Linked DNA regions of Homo sapiens: regions 1 and 3 are each linked to region 2. The links are contacts of gene promoters, found by promoter capture Hi-C in human tissues and cell types (Jung and others, 2019). All regions are on one chromosome and are shown on one strand. The core of a region is centred on a gene start or on the middle of the fragment in contact, and the rest is flanking DNA. Distances in the headings are between cores, read along the strand shown.

Region 1 (4,892 bases), core at 618-3,117, 330 kb before region 2:
TTTCACTGTTTCTATTTCCTCATCTCTAACTCACTTTCTGATCCACTCCAGGCTGCCTTCTTCCCCCATCATCACCATTCCTCCTAAATGGTTCTAGCTAAGGCCAGTGGTCACCTTCATGTTGCCGAATCCAGCAAATATTTTTTTTATTATTCTTGATCTCTCAATAGCATTTAAAATAGTTGCCCACCAACTCTTCTGCTGTTGTTTTTTTTTTTTTTTTGAGACGGAGTTTTGCTCTTGTTGCTCAGGCTGGAGTGCAGTGGCACCATCTCAGCTCACTGCAACCTCCGCCTCCTGGGTTCAAGCAATTCTCCTGCCTCAGCCTCCTGAGTAGCTGGATTACAGATGCGTGCCACCATGCGCGGCTATTTTTTTGTTGTTGTTGTATTTTTCGTAGAGACGGGTTTTCTCCATGTTGGTCAGGCTGGTCTTGAGCTCCCGACCTCAGGTGATCCGCCTGTCTCGGCCTCCCGGAGTGCTGGGATTACAGGCGTGAGCCACTGCGCCCGGACCCCACCACCTCTTTTTTGAACTATTCGCTTTCCTGACAATCATACTCTCTTTGTTTTCCTCCTATGTCTACCCACTCCTCTGTCTCTTTGCCAGTTCATTTTCTTCTACTTGGCCATTTAGTGTCATCACTACTCAAGGCTCAGTCTCAAGCTTTAATCTTCTTTTAAATCATAAGAGTACAATGCACCAGCTTGAAAAATTTTTACACTGGTATGTCTTACAGTGTAGTATTTTGCATATTGCATTGGTATAAAACATTTCCAGTACCCCAGAAAGTTCCTTCAGGCTGTTTCCTAGTCAATGCTACCCCATAAGAGTTAACCACTGTTCTAACAGTATAGATCAATTTCCCTCATTCTTGAACTTCTTGGAGTATATGTATCCTCCATACAGTGTATACTCTTTTGTGTCTGTTTGTTTTGTTTTGTTTTGCTTGTGATTACGTCTGTGAGATTTAGCCATGTTGTTGTGTGTGGAAGTGGTTAGTTCTTTTTTGATGCTGTATAGTATCTCATTATATGAATATGCCACAATTGATCCATTCTACTGATGCTAGACATTTGGGTTGTTACTAGTTTTTGGCTCTTATCTATAAAGCTACTATGAACATTTTTGTTCATGTTTTTTGGTTGATATATGCACTCATTTCTCCTGGGCACATGACTAGCTATGGAGCTATGGTTAAGTCATAGGGTATGATTCTGTTTAGCTTTAGTGGATACTGCCAAATCAGACCTTTTTTTCTATCTTTTTTTTAAACTTTATATTCTATTCTTGGGCAGTCTCATCTTCACTCATCACTTCAATTACCATCTACACACTGACAACTGCCAAATTTATGTCTCAGCCCAGCTCTCTCCTCTTAGCATCAGCTCCAGTCGCCAATTTTCCCACTTAACGTCTCTACTTGGATGTCCCTAAGACTCCTCAAAACCTGCATGTGCAAAACCAAAGTCATCATCTTACCTCCCAAACTAGTTCTTTACCTGTGTGCCTGATCTAGTGAGCCACCCACTGTTCACCCCGTCATGCAAACCAGAAATCATCCCTGACACTCCATCTCCCTCACCTGCCTTGACAGGATCTGCCAATTTTGCCTCATAAACATCTCCACTCTACCCCCTGTTCCGGCCCATCCCACCACTGCATGTCTCTTTGGGCCACGGCAATGGCTCCTCGACAGGCCTTCCAGCAGCCCTTCTATATCCTTCACTCTGCAGCCAGAGTGGTCTTTTCAAATCAAAGCTCTGATCACTTGAACGCCTTCCATGGGGAGTCTTTCATTGTCCCTCAGCCAGAATCCTCACCGTGGCCTTTAAGGCCCTGAGTGACCTGGGTCCTCCCTGCCTTTACCCACCTCTCCAGCCACACTTGCCCCTTCTCATCTCTCTCCTTCCAGGCCTTTGCATACACTCAGTTCTCTCTCTGGAATATCCTCCCTCCTCCACAGCGGTAAGCGCTAGTGCGCACGTGCACACACACAAATATATACACACACACACCATTACCTAATTACTCCTCTTTATTTATTTTTTATTTTATTTATTTATTTATTTATTTATTTATTTATTTATTATTTAATTTATTTTTTTGAGACAGAATCTCGTTCTATTGCCTGGGCTGGAGTGCAGTGGTGCAATCTTAGCTCACTGCAACTTCCACATCCTTGGTTCAAGCAAGTCTCATGCCTCAGCCTCCCAAGTAGCTGAGATTACAGTCATGTGTCACCATGCCTGGCTAATTTTTGTATTTTTAGTAGATAAGGGGTTTCACCATGGTGGCCAGGCTGGTCTTGAACTCCTGGCCTCAAGTGATCCGCCCATTTCAGCCTCCCAAAGTGCTGGGATTACAGGCATAAGCCACCGCGCCCAGCCTCCTCTTTATTCTTTAGACTGTAATTCAAACATCATTTCCTCAGAGAAAGCTTCCTTAATTCCCCAGTCTGGGGCAAGTCCCTCTGTCATTCACTCTGATAGAGTCATTTTTTTTTTTCATAGCACTTATGGTTTGCAATTAGATATTTGTTTTTTTCATTTTTGAATTGAGGTCTGTCTTCCCTGTTCGACAGTAAGCTCCATGAGGGCAGGTCCATGATGTGTTCTCCACTGTGTCAATGAGTAAATGCAAGAATGAAGAAGCAAGGGATTTGGAGACAGATGACCTCATTCCAGCCTCCAGCCCACTTCTTGCTCTCCCTAAGACTTGAATAGGCTGGTGTGGCTCAGTTTTCTCACTTGTCAGATGGGAATGAAGTTACTCAAACCTGCTTATTTCACTGGGTTGTGTGAGGATCCCATGAGATAACAATTGAAAACCATGAAGCATTACACAGACATGAGGGGTGGCTGGAATGAAGAAAGGGATATAGAAAAAGTCAGAAACCACTCAGCACACACTGCTAAAGAGAAGGTCTGGGTGGGGGGCGCTGTATGCTTGGACAGAGGGTTCAGGACTGAGTGCAGCTCTGTGTGTGTGTCTGCTTGGGCACCTCTCCAGGGGCCCTCTGTGTATGCCCTTTGACACTTTCCTCATCCCCCAATTACTTGAACAAGATGAAGATGGGAAAGAATGTTAGAAGAATAAGCATTTGTTTGAACAAGCATACAGGCGATGGAGGAGAGAGGACATGCAGTTGGGTGTGTGTGTGTGTTGGGGTGTGTGCGTGTTGGGGTGTGTGTGTGTTGGGGCGTGTGTGTGTGTGTTGGGGTGTGTGTGTCGCCCCACACCAGGGCTGCGTGTCTGTGTGGTAATGTGCAAGTGTGCAGTGTGGTCTTGGTTGCTGTGGGGGAAGAGGTATTCAGTTGCACCCAACTTACTGTCCTTTGGCACTGTCTGTGCGTGCACACCCTTGTCTTTGCTGGGGCTCCCAAGCTGGAAGCTCCCGCTGCCTTAGCTGCTTCCTTCTGGAAATCAATCTACTTCCCCTTCCAAAACATCTGAAGGAGGGGGACAGTGCCCTCTAGTGGGAACGCATGGGCAGCTGCAGCTTCCTCAGCCCAAGCCTCAGCCCCACTCCACCCAAGTCTGGAAGTCCTCTCTGAAGCACTTCCTGGGGAATGCAAAGGAGGAGGCCCCTGCCCTCTGAGAGCTCAAGATCTGGCAGGCAGGAAAAAGATACACACAGGACAGGACACACAGGTTCATGCAGGAGAAGCCTGAGGACAGCAGCTGAAGGTGGGGGAGTCTCTCCTCATCTCTGCAATGACTTATCTCTGGTTGCCCTGGGTGTTCCTGGCCTTCCTTGCTTCCTGTTCCTGCACATGGTCTCTTGGTCCTGCTCTTTTGCTCTCGGTCATTACTCATAGCTGTAGGGCCTTGAGCAGAACTGGACCCTTTAGTCTATTCCCTGGGTGGGCACTAACAGCACCCTGTGGAGTCGGGAGGATTCTTGGAGGAGGTAACATGTGAGTAGGATCTTGAAAAATGAGTAGGAATTCTCCAGATGGAGTCCAGGGAAGGCACAGGACTGTGGATGAGCCTCGTGTGTCTGGGGACAGGTGGTGGTGGCTGGATGCTGGCCTGAGGTGGAGGGTACATTGCTTTCAGCTTTTTTTTTTTTTTTTTTGAGACGGAGTCTTGCTCTGTCCCCCAGGCTGGAGTGCAGTGGCTCAGTCTCGGCTCACTGCAAGCTCCACCTCCTGGGTTCACACCATTCTCCTGCCTCAGCCTCCCGAGTAGCTGGGACCACAGGCGCCTGCCAGCACACCTGGCTAAATTTTTTTGGTTTTTTTTTTTTGTATTTTTAGTAGAGACAGGGTTTCACTGTGTTAGCCAGGATGGTCTCGATCTCCTGACCTCTTGATCTGTCCACCTCGACCTCCCAAAGTGCTGGGATTACAGGCGTGAGCCACCACGCCTGGCTGCTTTCAGCTTTGTGGGGCTACAAGAGAGGACTAAATTTTGCCAGGAGGCAGTGGGGAGTGAGAGAAGGTCTTTACTTTTTTGAGATGGAGCCTTGTTCTGTCGCCCAGGCTGGAGTGCAGTGGTGCGATCTCGGCTCACTGCAACCTCCGCCTCCCGGGTTCAAGCGATTCTTCTGCCTCAACCTCCCAAGCAGCTGGAACTACAGGTGCGTGCCACCATACCTGGCTAGAGAAGGTCTTTAAGCAGAAGAATGGTCAGAGTCACACAACTCGAACTAAAGGTGGGGAGAAACTGCAGGGAGGCAGGGAGACCAGTTGAGAGGCTGTTGTTTAGGCAAAAGAGGAGGGCAGTGGCAGAAAGAGGAGGACAGTGGCTGTTGTTTAGGCCAGTCTGAGGGCAGTGGCAGAAGGATGGAGAGGGGCTAGAGCTCAAGACTCTGCTTCTGAGGCCTCTTTGTCCCTGGCAGCAAAGCTGAGGCCAAAGGTTCCACATCACTCAGTTCTGCTAGAACC
Region 2 (4,632 bases), core at 361-2,860:
GGATTACAGGCATGAGCCACTGTGACCAGTTTAGCTTTCCTTAAACATAGGAAAGAACCCCCCCTTAATCAATTTCATCAAACATGACTGATTTTTGTTTGTTTGTTTGTTTTTGAGACAGGGTCTCGCTATGTCACCCATGCTGAGTGGGGTGCAGTAGTGCAAGCATGGTGCTCACTGCAGTCTCCTGGGTTCAGGGGATCCTCTGGCCTCCCAAGGAGCTGGGACTACAGGTTTGAGCTAACATGCCTGGCTAATTTTTTTATTTTTAGTAGACAGGAGGTCTCCTTATGTTGGCCAAGCTGGTCTAGAACTCCTGGGCTCAAGAGATCCTCCTGCCTTGGCCTCCCAAAGCATTGGGATTACAGGCATGAATCGCTGTGCCTGGCCTGATTTTGTTGTACTGCGAGAGAATAAAATGCAGTATAACCTTAATTGTTTGGGGGTCTATTAGATTCTTATGTATTTATTTATTTATTTATTTTTCTAAAAATATAGATGGGGTCTCACTATGTTGACCAGGCTGGTCTCTAACTCCTGGCCTCAAGGGATCCTCCCATCTCAGCTTCCCAAAGTGTTGGGATTACAGGCATAAGCCACCGCACCCGGCTGACATTATGTAAACACTCTTTCTATTCTCCTTGAATTTCTCCTAATTTCTCCTTGAAGTGTACAGGGAAAATAAAAGGAGCTAGAATTCAAAGCCATCTAAATTCTATCTGGCTAATAGCTGTTTGATAAAACCTCCATAGGGAACAAATGAAAACTTTTTTTTTTTTTGAGATAGAGTTTCGCTTTTGTTGCCCAGGCTGGAGTGCAATGGTGCAATCTTGGCTCACCACAACCTCCACCTCCCTGGTTCAAGCAATTCTCCTACCTCAGCCTCCTGAGTAGCTGGGATTACAGGCAAGTGCAATCATGCCCAGCTAACTTTTTGTATTTTTAGTAGAAACGGTGGTTTCTCCATGTTGGTCAGGCTGGTCTTGAACTCCCGACCTCAGTGATCCGCCCGCCTCGGCCTCCCAAAGTGCTGGGATTACAGGCGTGAGCCACCATGCCCGGCTTGATTTATTTCTTAAATGGCTTTATTAAACCTGATATAAAGAGATTAATGTCAAATTGGAGCTTGTTATATCCACAGTCGGTGTCAGGTGAAATTGTCATTTGAAGTCAAAGCTACCCTAAATACAGTCAAATATCATGAAAGTGATTTCTAAAATAAACAAAAATGTACTTGGTCACAGAAAGTTTAAAAAGAAAATTGCAGTCTGTAAACTTCAGATTCACTACCTACCTCTCTGGCTCGATGGAGCTGTGCGCGCTCAATCCTAGAGATGATATCCTTTACTGAGAATGGGATCTCAAGGTTAGGGAGCATCAAAGGACTAAGGATATTTTGGGGCTCTCTTCTCATGATGGTGGAATCCTTGATGCATTTTTCTGATTCAGGGTCATTGTCTATCTCATTTTTCATTTTGAAGAACATTTTGAAAATGTGGGTGATTTCGTTTTATTTCTTCTTTTTCACAGAATCTACAAAAATGCTAATAAAGATATCCAGTAGGAAGCTAGGAGAGGTCTTTCCTGATCCTAGAAGTTGTGGCATACTCTGCTACTAATTGGTGGCTCCCATGATATTCCCGTCCTGTTGATGTCACAATAGACCCATTGTGACATTATCATTGATCAAACATGTAAAGAATGCTTACTATGTGCAGAGAACTGGTCATTCTATATGCTGCCATGGTAGAAGGGTGAGGGGGGAAGGAGGGTAGGAAATAATAGACAACAGGAATGCTAAAATAAACAGAAGATATAGCCCTGCTTAAATAAGCTTAAAATCTAGATGTGTTGGCCGGGTGCAGTGGCTCATGCCTGTAATCCCAGCACTTTGGGAGGCCGAGGCAGGTGGATCACCAGAGGTCGGAGTTCGAGACCAGCCTGACCAACATGGAGAAACCCCGTCTCTACTAAAAAAAAAAAAATACAAAATTAGCCATGTGAGGTGGCACATGCGTGTAGTCCCAGCTACTTGGGAGGCTGAGGCAGGAGAATCACTTGAACCCGGGAGGCGGAGGTTGTGGTGAGCCGAGATCACGTCATTGCACTCCAGCCTGGGCAACAAGAGTGAAACTGTCTCAAAAAAAAAAAAAAAAAAATCTAGGTGTGTCAAATATAACTCCTGGTTCTTCTCTCTTCCTGGGGTTTTGCTTAAGTATTTTTAAGCCTGTAATGGAATAAAGGTTACAACTACTTCCTCAGCTGCCCCTTAACTTTTCCTAGACATGTAGTAACTTGGATGATATCATTTGGATGAAGTAACTTGGATGATATCATTTGGATGAGGATCACACTCTTTGCACTGCTTACTCTTTTTTCTTTTCTTTTCTTTTCTTTCCCTTTTTTTTGGAGACAGAGTCTCACTTTGTTACCCAGGCTGGAGTGCAGTGGTGTGATCTTGGTTCATGGCAACCTCTGCCTCCCAGGTTCAAGAGATTCTTGTGCCTCAGCCTCCCTGAGTAGCTGGAATTACAGGTGCGCGCCACCACGCCTGGCTAATTTTTGTTTAATATTTGCTTCCAATTTTTTTAATAATAAAAAAGCATTACAGAAGGTTGAAGTCCTCTTTGATGTCCCCCACCCCTGGTTCCTTCCTTCCCCACTGTCCCATTCCAGAGGAAATGACAATCATGAATTTTACATATTTGTGTTATCTATTTTTACATAGTTTTACTACAGGTGTATGTATTGTTTTTTCTTTCTTTCTTTCTTTCTCCTTCCTTCCTTCCTTCCTTCCTTCCTTCCTTCCTTCCTTCCTTCCTTCCTTTCTTTCTTTCTTTTTTTTTTTTTGAGGCAGAGTCTCACTCTGTTGTCCAGGCTGGAGTGTAGTAGTGCCATCTCAGCAGACTGTAACCTCTGCCTCCCAGGTTCAAACGATTCTTCTACCTCAGCCTCCCGAGTAGCTGGGATTACAGGCATGCGCCACCACACCTGGCTAATTTTTTTTTTTTTTTTTTTTGAGACGGAATCTCGCCTGTGGCCCAGGCTGGAGTGCAGTGGCATGATCTCGGCTCACTGCAAGCTCCGCCTCCCAGGTTTGCTCCATTCTCCTGCCTCAGCCTCCCGAGTAGCTGGGACTACAGGCGCCCGCCACCACACCCGGCTAGTTTTTTGTATTTTTTAGTAGAGACGGGGTTTCACCATGTTAGCCAGGATGGTCTCGATCTCCTGACCTCGTGATCTGCATGCCTTGGCCTCCCAAAGTGCTGAGATTACAGGTGTGAGCCACTGCACTCGGCCTACACCTGGCTAATTTTTTATATTTTTGGTAGATATAGGGTTTCACTGTGTTGGCCAGGCTGGTCTCAAACTCCTCAAGTGATTCACTCACCTCGGCCTCCCAAAGTTTAGTTGTCAACTAAACTAAATTTGCATTATTCTTTCTCTCTCACTTGCATCTTTTATGCAGCATGGAATTCATCAATCAGCAACTAGACATGAAGGCTTTTCTTTGAGACAAAATCTCACTCTGTCACCCAGGCTGGAGTGCAGAGGCACGATCTAGGCTCACTGCAAGCTCCGCCTCCCAGGTTCACGCCATTCTCCTGCCTCAGCCTCCCAAGTAGCTGGGACTACAGGCGCCCACCACCACGCCCGGCTAATTTTTTGTATTTTTAGTAGAGAAAGAGTTTCACCGTGTTTGCCAGGACAGTCTCGATCTCCTGACCTCGTGGCCTCCCAAAGTGCTGGGATTACAGCCATGAGCCACCACGCCTGGCCATGAAGGCTTCTTAAAGTCAATTTTTAAATCCTGCTTCCCTTTCAATTCGACAAGCATTTGTTGAAACACTATGCAGCTTACATTATCCTAAACTGAAGAATATATGATAGGGTTCCTGTGAAGAAACTAAAACAAAAAAGAAAAGATTTAAGATAGAATATAATAATCAAGTGCTAATAAGGGACACGAAGAAGAGATCTGTAGAAGCAGAATCTTTGAGAAAACCTTATGGAGAGAGAAGGTTGATTGACAAATGGAGGCAATCCAGGTAGGGGCAACACCTTGAGCCATGGCTTTGGCGGTGAGTGCTAATGAGTTTGCATCTTAGGGGGAAAGTAAGGAGATTGGTTTAATCACTGAGATGACTTCACGGGAATTTACTGAGGACCACATTAGGGTGGGCCTGAGATAACAGATATCAGCAATTTGGTGGTGGAATTAATTTGGTATCTGAGGAGATTCCATTTGCGGCAAAGCAAGGAGGATTTCATGAGATCAGAATGGCAAAGTCTTGAAATCAAGTAACAGTGGTTTGGTGAAAATGAAACCTTCACTTTGGGAAGATTTTTTAAATAATAGAATGGAAAAATCCATTGGAAAAGATCAAGACATGATTATTTCATTTTTATTTATTATTATTATTTTTTAGAGACAGAGTCACACTCTGTCACCCAGGCTTGAGTGCAGTGGCGTGATCTTGGCTCACTGCAACCTCTGCCTCCCAGGTTCTAGCAATTCTCCTGCCTCAGCCTCCCACGTAGCTGGGACTACAGGCACACACTGCCATGCCTGGCTAATTTTTTGTATTTTACTAGAGATGGCATTTCACCATGTTGCCCAGGCTGGTCTTG
Region 3 (4,473 bases), core at 1,099-3,598, 260 kb after region 2:
CCTTGAGACCAGTAGTTGGAGACCAGCCTGGGCAATGTAGTGACACCCCATCTTTACAAAAAAAAAAAGAAGAAGACAACAAATTATTTCTATGGTATTTCTGCCAAATTGCATAACCTGAAATTAATTATAAGGAAATATCAAGCAAGCCAAAATTAAAGAACATTTTACAAAATAACTAGTCTGTACAAAAATATCAAGATAATAAAAGGCAAAGTAAGGCTGAGAAACAGTTCTGGATTATAGGGGAATCAAGAGACAGGACAACTAAGTAGGATTTCCTCCAGTAGATCCCAGATCAGGAAAAAAGGTGGGAGGGAAAACCTATAGAGGACATTATTGGGACAATAGACTATGTTGGAATATGGATTGTGGGTTAGATAATAGTTTGTATCAATGTTGAATTTCTGTATTTTGGCTGGTAATCCCAGCACTTCGGGAGACTGAGGCGGGTGGATCGCTGGAGCCCAGTTCAAGACCAACCCTAGGCAGCATACATAGCAAGACCTCATCTCAAAAAAAAAAAAAAAGAAAGAAAAAAAAGAAAAACAAGAATTTCTGGGGTTTGTTGTTTTGTTTTTTTGAGACAGAGTCTTGCTCTGTCGCCCAGGCTGGAGTACAATGGTGTGATCTCGGCTCACTGCAACCTCCGCCTGCTGGGTTCAAGTGATTCTTCTGCCTCAGCCTCCTGAGTAGCTGGAATTACAGGTGCGTGCTACCATGCCTGGCTAATTTCTGTATTTTTAGTAGAGACAGGGTTTTACCATGTTGGCCAGGCTGGTCTTGAACTCCTGACTTCAAGTTATCCACCCACTTAGGCCTCCCAAAGTGCTGGGATTACAGGTGTGAGCCATTGCACCCGGCCAATTTTTCTGGATTTTGAATAATGTCCTGGGGTTATATAAGAGAAAATTCCTTATTTTTAGGAAATATGTTTGAAACATTTCTGAAGAAATAAGTACATATACTTTGATCTCAGCAGTTTTTGTAATTAATTCTAAGAAAATAATTAGACATGTGCTAAGGTGAAAATACTGAATTATTCTTTCTATGAATAATTTCAAAAATTTGGAAATAACCTAGTATCTGATAATAAGGAATTGTGTAAGTAAATCATGGCACATTCATGCAGTGAAATACTATGCAGCCCTTAAAAGTTATGTTGTTGGTCTGTACACAGTGAGGTGTTTCTCCTTGTATTAGTGGAGGTTTTTTGGTTGCAAGAAACAGAAGCTGGCCGGGCGTGGTGGCTCACGCCTGTAATCCCAGCACTTTAGTAGGCCGAGGCGGGCAGATGACAAGGTCAGGAGTTCAAGGCCAGCCTGACCAAGATGGTGAAACCCCACCTCTACTAAAAATGCAAAAATTAGCTGGGCGTGGTGGCGTGTACCTGTAGTCCCAGCTACTTGGGAGGCTGAGACAGGAAAATGGCTTGAACCTGGGAGGCAGAGGTTGCAGTGAGCTGAGATTGCGCCACTGCACTCCAGCCTGGGCGACAGAGCGACACTCCATCTCAAAAAAAACAGGTCAACTTACATAGGCTACCTTAAATAGCTGAGGTAGGTCATAGAAACAAATCAACATTTGAAAAACCCCTAGAAAGGAGAGATAACTCTGGGAATCTCAACCTTGAAGTTTAAAACCTTCCTTCTTTCTAGGGCATTGTCACATTGTCGTTAAAGTGATTCCATTTAGGACCTGCAGTTTCTTGATTCAGAGTTTAAATTTAAAAAAGAGGATCTCATTGGTCTAGCTCTTATAAGGGGTATATTTACTTTACAGAGCGGTATGGAAGGATAGTTTGTTTGTGGATTAGGCCCATTCCTAGACAAAAGGAAACTATTTTTTTTGTGACTTAGGAAGCTACCTCAGCTGTTATCTACCTCAGTAAGATTTTGTAAGAGTTTTTTTTTTTTTTAGCGGGATACAAAATACTGTGTACAGTATGATTCAATTTTGTGGAACTATAGAGTGACCTTTGGAGTGGGGGTAGAAAATGAAGAGTTTTGTTTGGATGTGTTAATTTTGAGATTCCTATTAGACATTCAAGTAGAGAGCTGAAATTTTTTGTGCCCAAAGTGGCAAACAATTAACATCTGCCCTTATGTTTTTCTAGATCAAAATAAATCCTTCTCTTCCTGTGGCATAGAACTGAGGGGTCTCAACCAAGTTTTCTTTCAGACTTGAAAGAAATTTTCTTTCAGTTAAGAAAATCCTAAGCTTCTTTTCTTGAAAAATAATGAGTGTTCTCCAGGCACCTGCACAGCGCTCATTCCATTTGAGGCAGAATTTCCTGCTTGGCACAGATGCATGTTAGACTCAGTATTCTGTCCCCACCCACCTCCCCACATCTCTGTCAACTCTTTGTCTGGTGTGTTAAGGAGTCACACATCATTCTGGACTTCATTTTCCTCCTCCGTAAAATTATCCCTGGCTTCTTTTATTTTTGTTTTTGATTTTTATTTCTAATTGGTCTTAATCAAATTATAAATAAAAATCATCTGAACGTCCCCTTTACCTTTTTTTTTTTTTTTAAACAATTGAGGCAGTGATAGTTCAGCTCACAGTGGTAAACACTTTCAAGAGCCGGAAGCTAATAAATGCAAATGTTTGCTTTTTCAGATATCCACACAGAAGCAGTTCAGGCTGCACTGGCAAAGCATAAAGAACAGAAGATGGCTTTGCCCATGCCAACCAAAAGGCGATCCACATTTGTTCAGTCTCCTGCAGATGCCTGCACACCTCCTGGTAGGTTTATCAGAGCTTTTTCTCTCTGACAGTTAATACCTTGATGTTCCTGAAATAAGTTCTGCTTTTTCTTTTCTGAGGTAAGAACCAGAATCTTCTCCCCGCCATTAGAGGAATGTAAGAGAACACTCTGAGGTGGCAGATTTTGCTTGTCATCTCGTAAACAACACACAAAAAGATGTCTTAAGAGTAAAACTATTCAAAACTAAACAAAAAAACTTTCCTTCTGAATTTCCAGTCTTTTTTTTTTTTGGCTGTAATCCCCAGACTTATGTAGTCATAAATACAGGCCAAAGCTTAGGCCAAAATCCTGCTGTGTTAAATAGCCACTTTCATTGTCACCCAATATACTACTTGTAGTCATATATCTAATTCATTTGTACTCCTAAACCAAATGCTTCGTCTCTGCAGCAGGCATGAGAATTGTTGGACTTGGGACAAAAGTTTTTGTGTCATTAACAATTATGGAAGAGCAATCATGCAAAGTTGTGATGGACCTGCAAAACGTATATAAGTGTGTTTATGTGTGTGTGTGTTAATGTATTTTGTACACATTTATTTATTTTTTAAGAATCTACTTTTTATAACGGGGTCATGAGATCAGTGAGAACTAGGTATCTTCATCCCATCCCTGTTCACCAGACTTCAATCCTTATGCTCCCTAAGGTAAATTTAAAGAGTTATAACTTCATATTTGAGGAATAACTAGAAACAATCTAAGTTGTCTTGTCTGTTCAGAATCTCTCCCAAAGTTTTTTTAAAACCTTAAAAAAAATTTTTTTTGAACTTCTCTAGTGGAAGCTCGAAAAAAATTTTTTTTAGATCGAATCCCAGACAAGATCTTGATATAGGCCTTTGAGACTAAACATAGTAAATCTATTTCAGAGCCTCAATATAGTGTCTCTCTTTCTACTTTCATGTTACTGGTAATGAAATCTTTGAGAACAAATTTCCCCATACTTTTTTGGCCTAAACTACTTAATACGTCTTTGGGGAGATTCCTAGGTTGCCTTATGGTTGACTTTGATTCACAGCTGTCAAGTTGTTGAGCTGTTCATACTGATCCTATTCCCTGATCCAGATTAATATTAATAGTTTTCTTCTCGGTTTTGGCTAACTTCTCAGAGCATTTGGGTATGCTGTGGGCTCATTTACTGTGTGTGCTTTTTTTCTTCACATCTGTGGTGTCAACATGTTTGAAAGAGAAATAGCTCTGTGGCTTCAAGTGTTTCTCAAAATGTATCACAGGGTACCTCTAGCCGGCTATCACAGTAAGACAGTTTGTGTCTATAATGGTGCATACCTCAAACCTACTCATTGAAAATCTTGGATGGTTTCCCTTCCACATTAGTACAGCACAAGTTGGGTCCTCATGGACAAAGGGGGCTCTCAGTTTAGTAGCTATTCCTTTTTGGCAGATTACACTGCAGTGTGGCTGAGGGTTCAGTTGCAGTAAATGGCAAAGGGTAGGGAGCAGCATGACATGTAGTTCTTGGAAATAATCCCCTCCAAAGCTGTATCAAAGACATGCAGTTTCAGAGTAAATAGGCTGCCCTTATGGCTTTGGGTGAAATGTGAGAATGCAGCAAAGACCTTGAGAATGCTCAGAAGGAGTGGAAACCTTTTTTATCCGCTTTTACAAAAGTCACTGCCTGAGGGGAATTCACGAACTCTAGAAACAAATCGCAGCTGTTCATTGCTGAATGAGACTGTAGTCCTTTGAAA

The links. Contacts are between HindIII fragments. The study calls those that stand out against the background at their distance.
Region 1: a contact is called between a fragment that was not itself captured here and the fragment with the promoter of FAM186A in region 2, in 1 of the 25 tissues and cell types used here (IMR-90 fibroblasts).
Region 3: a fragment that was not itself captured here is called in contact with the fragment with the promoter of FAM186A in region 2 in 1 of the 25 tissues and cell types used here (spleen).

What each region holds. Positions count from the first base shown.
Region 1 is chr12:50,067,204-50,072,095 of GRCh38, forward strand. All of the region lies in intron 3 of ASIC1 (acid sensing ion channel subunit 1), which reads left to right. Among named protein-coding and RNA genes, the nearest start is that of ASIC1, 12 kb to the left of the region's middle. The HindIII fragment of the contact is 4,189 bases long and covers 1-3,962 here.
Region 2 is chr12:50,394,999-50,399,630 of GRCh38, forward strand. It overlaps FAM186A (family with sequence similarity 186 member A), which reads right to left and starts at 1,611. Exons shown (of 8, transcript NM_001145475.3): 1 at 1,295-1,611. The coding sequence starts at 1,486. The HindIII fragment of the contact is 8,551 bases long and covers 1-4,537 here.
Region 3 is chr12:50,657,572-50,662,044 of GRCh38, forward strand. It overlaps DIP2B (disco interacting protein 2 homolog B), which reads left to right. Exons shown (of 38, transcript NM_173602.3): 4 at 2,623-2,748. Among named protein-coding and RNA genes, the nearest start is that of ATF1, 100 kb to the right of the region's middle. RefSeq lists an enhancer at 3,833-3,892. The HindIII fragment of the contact is 3,484 bases long and covers 607-4,090 here.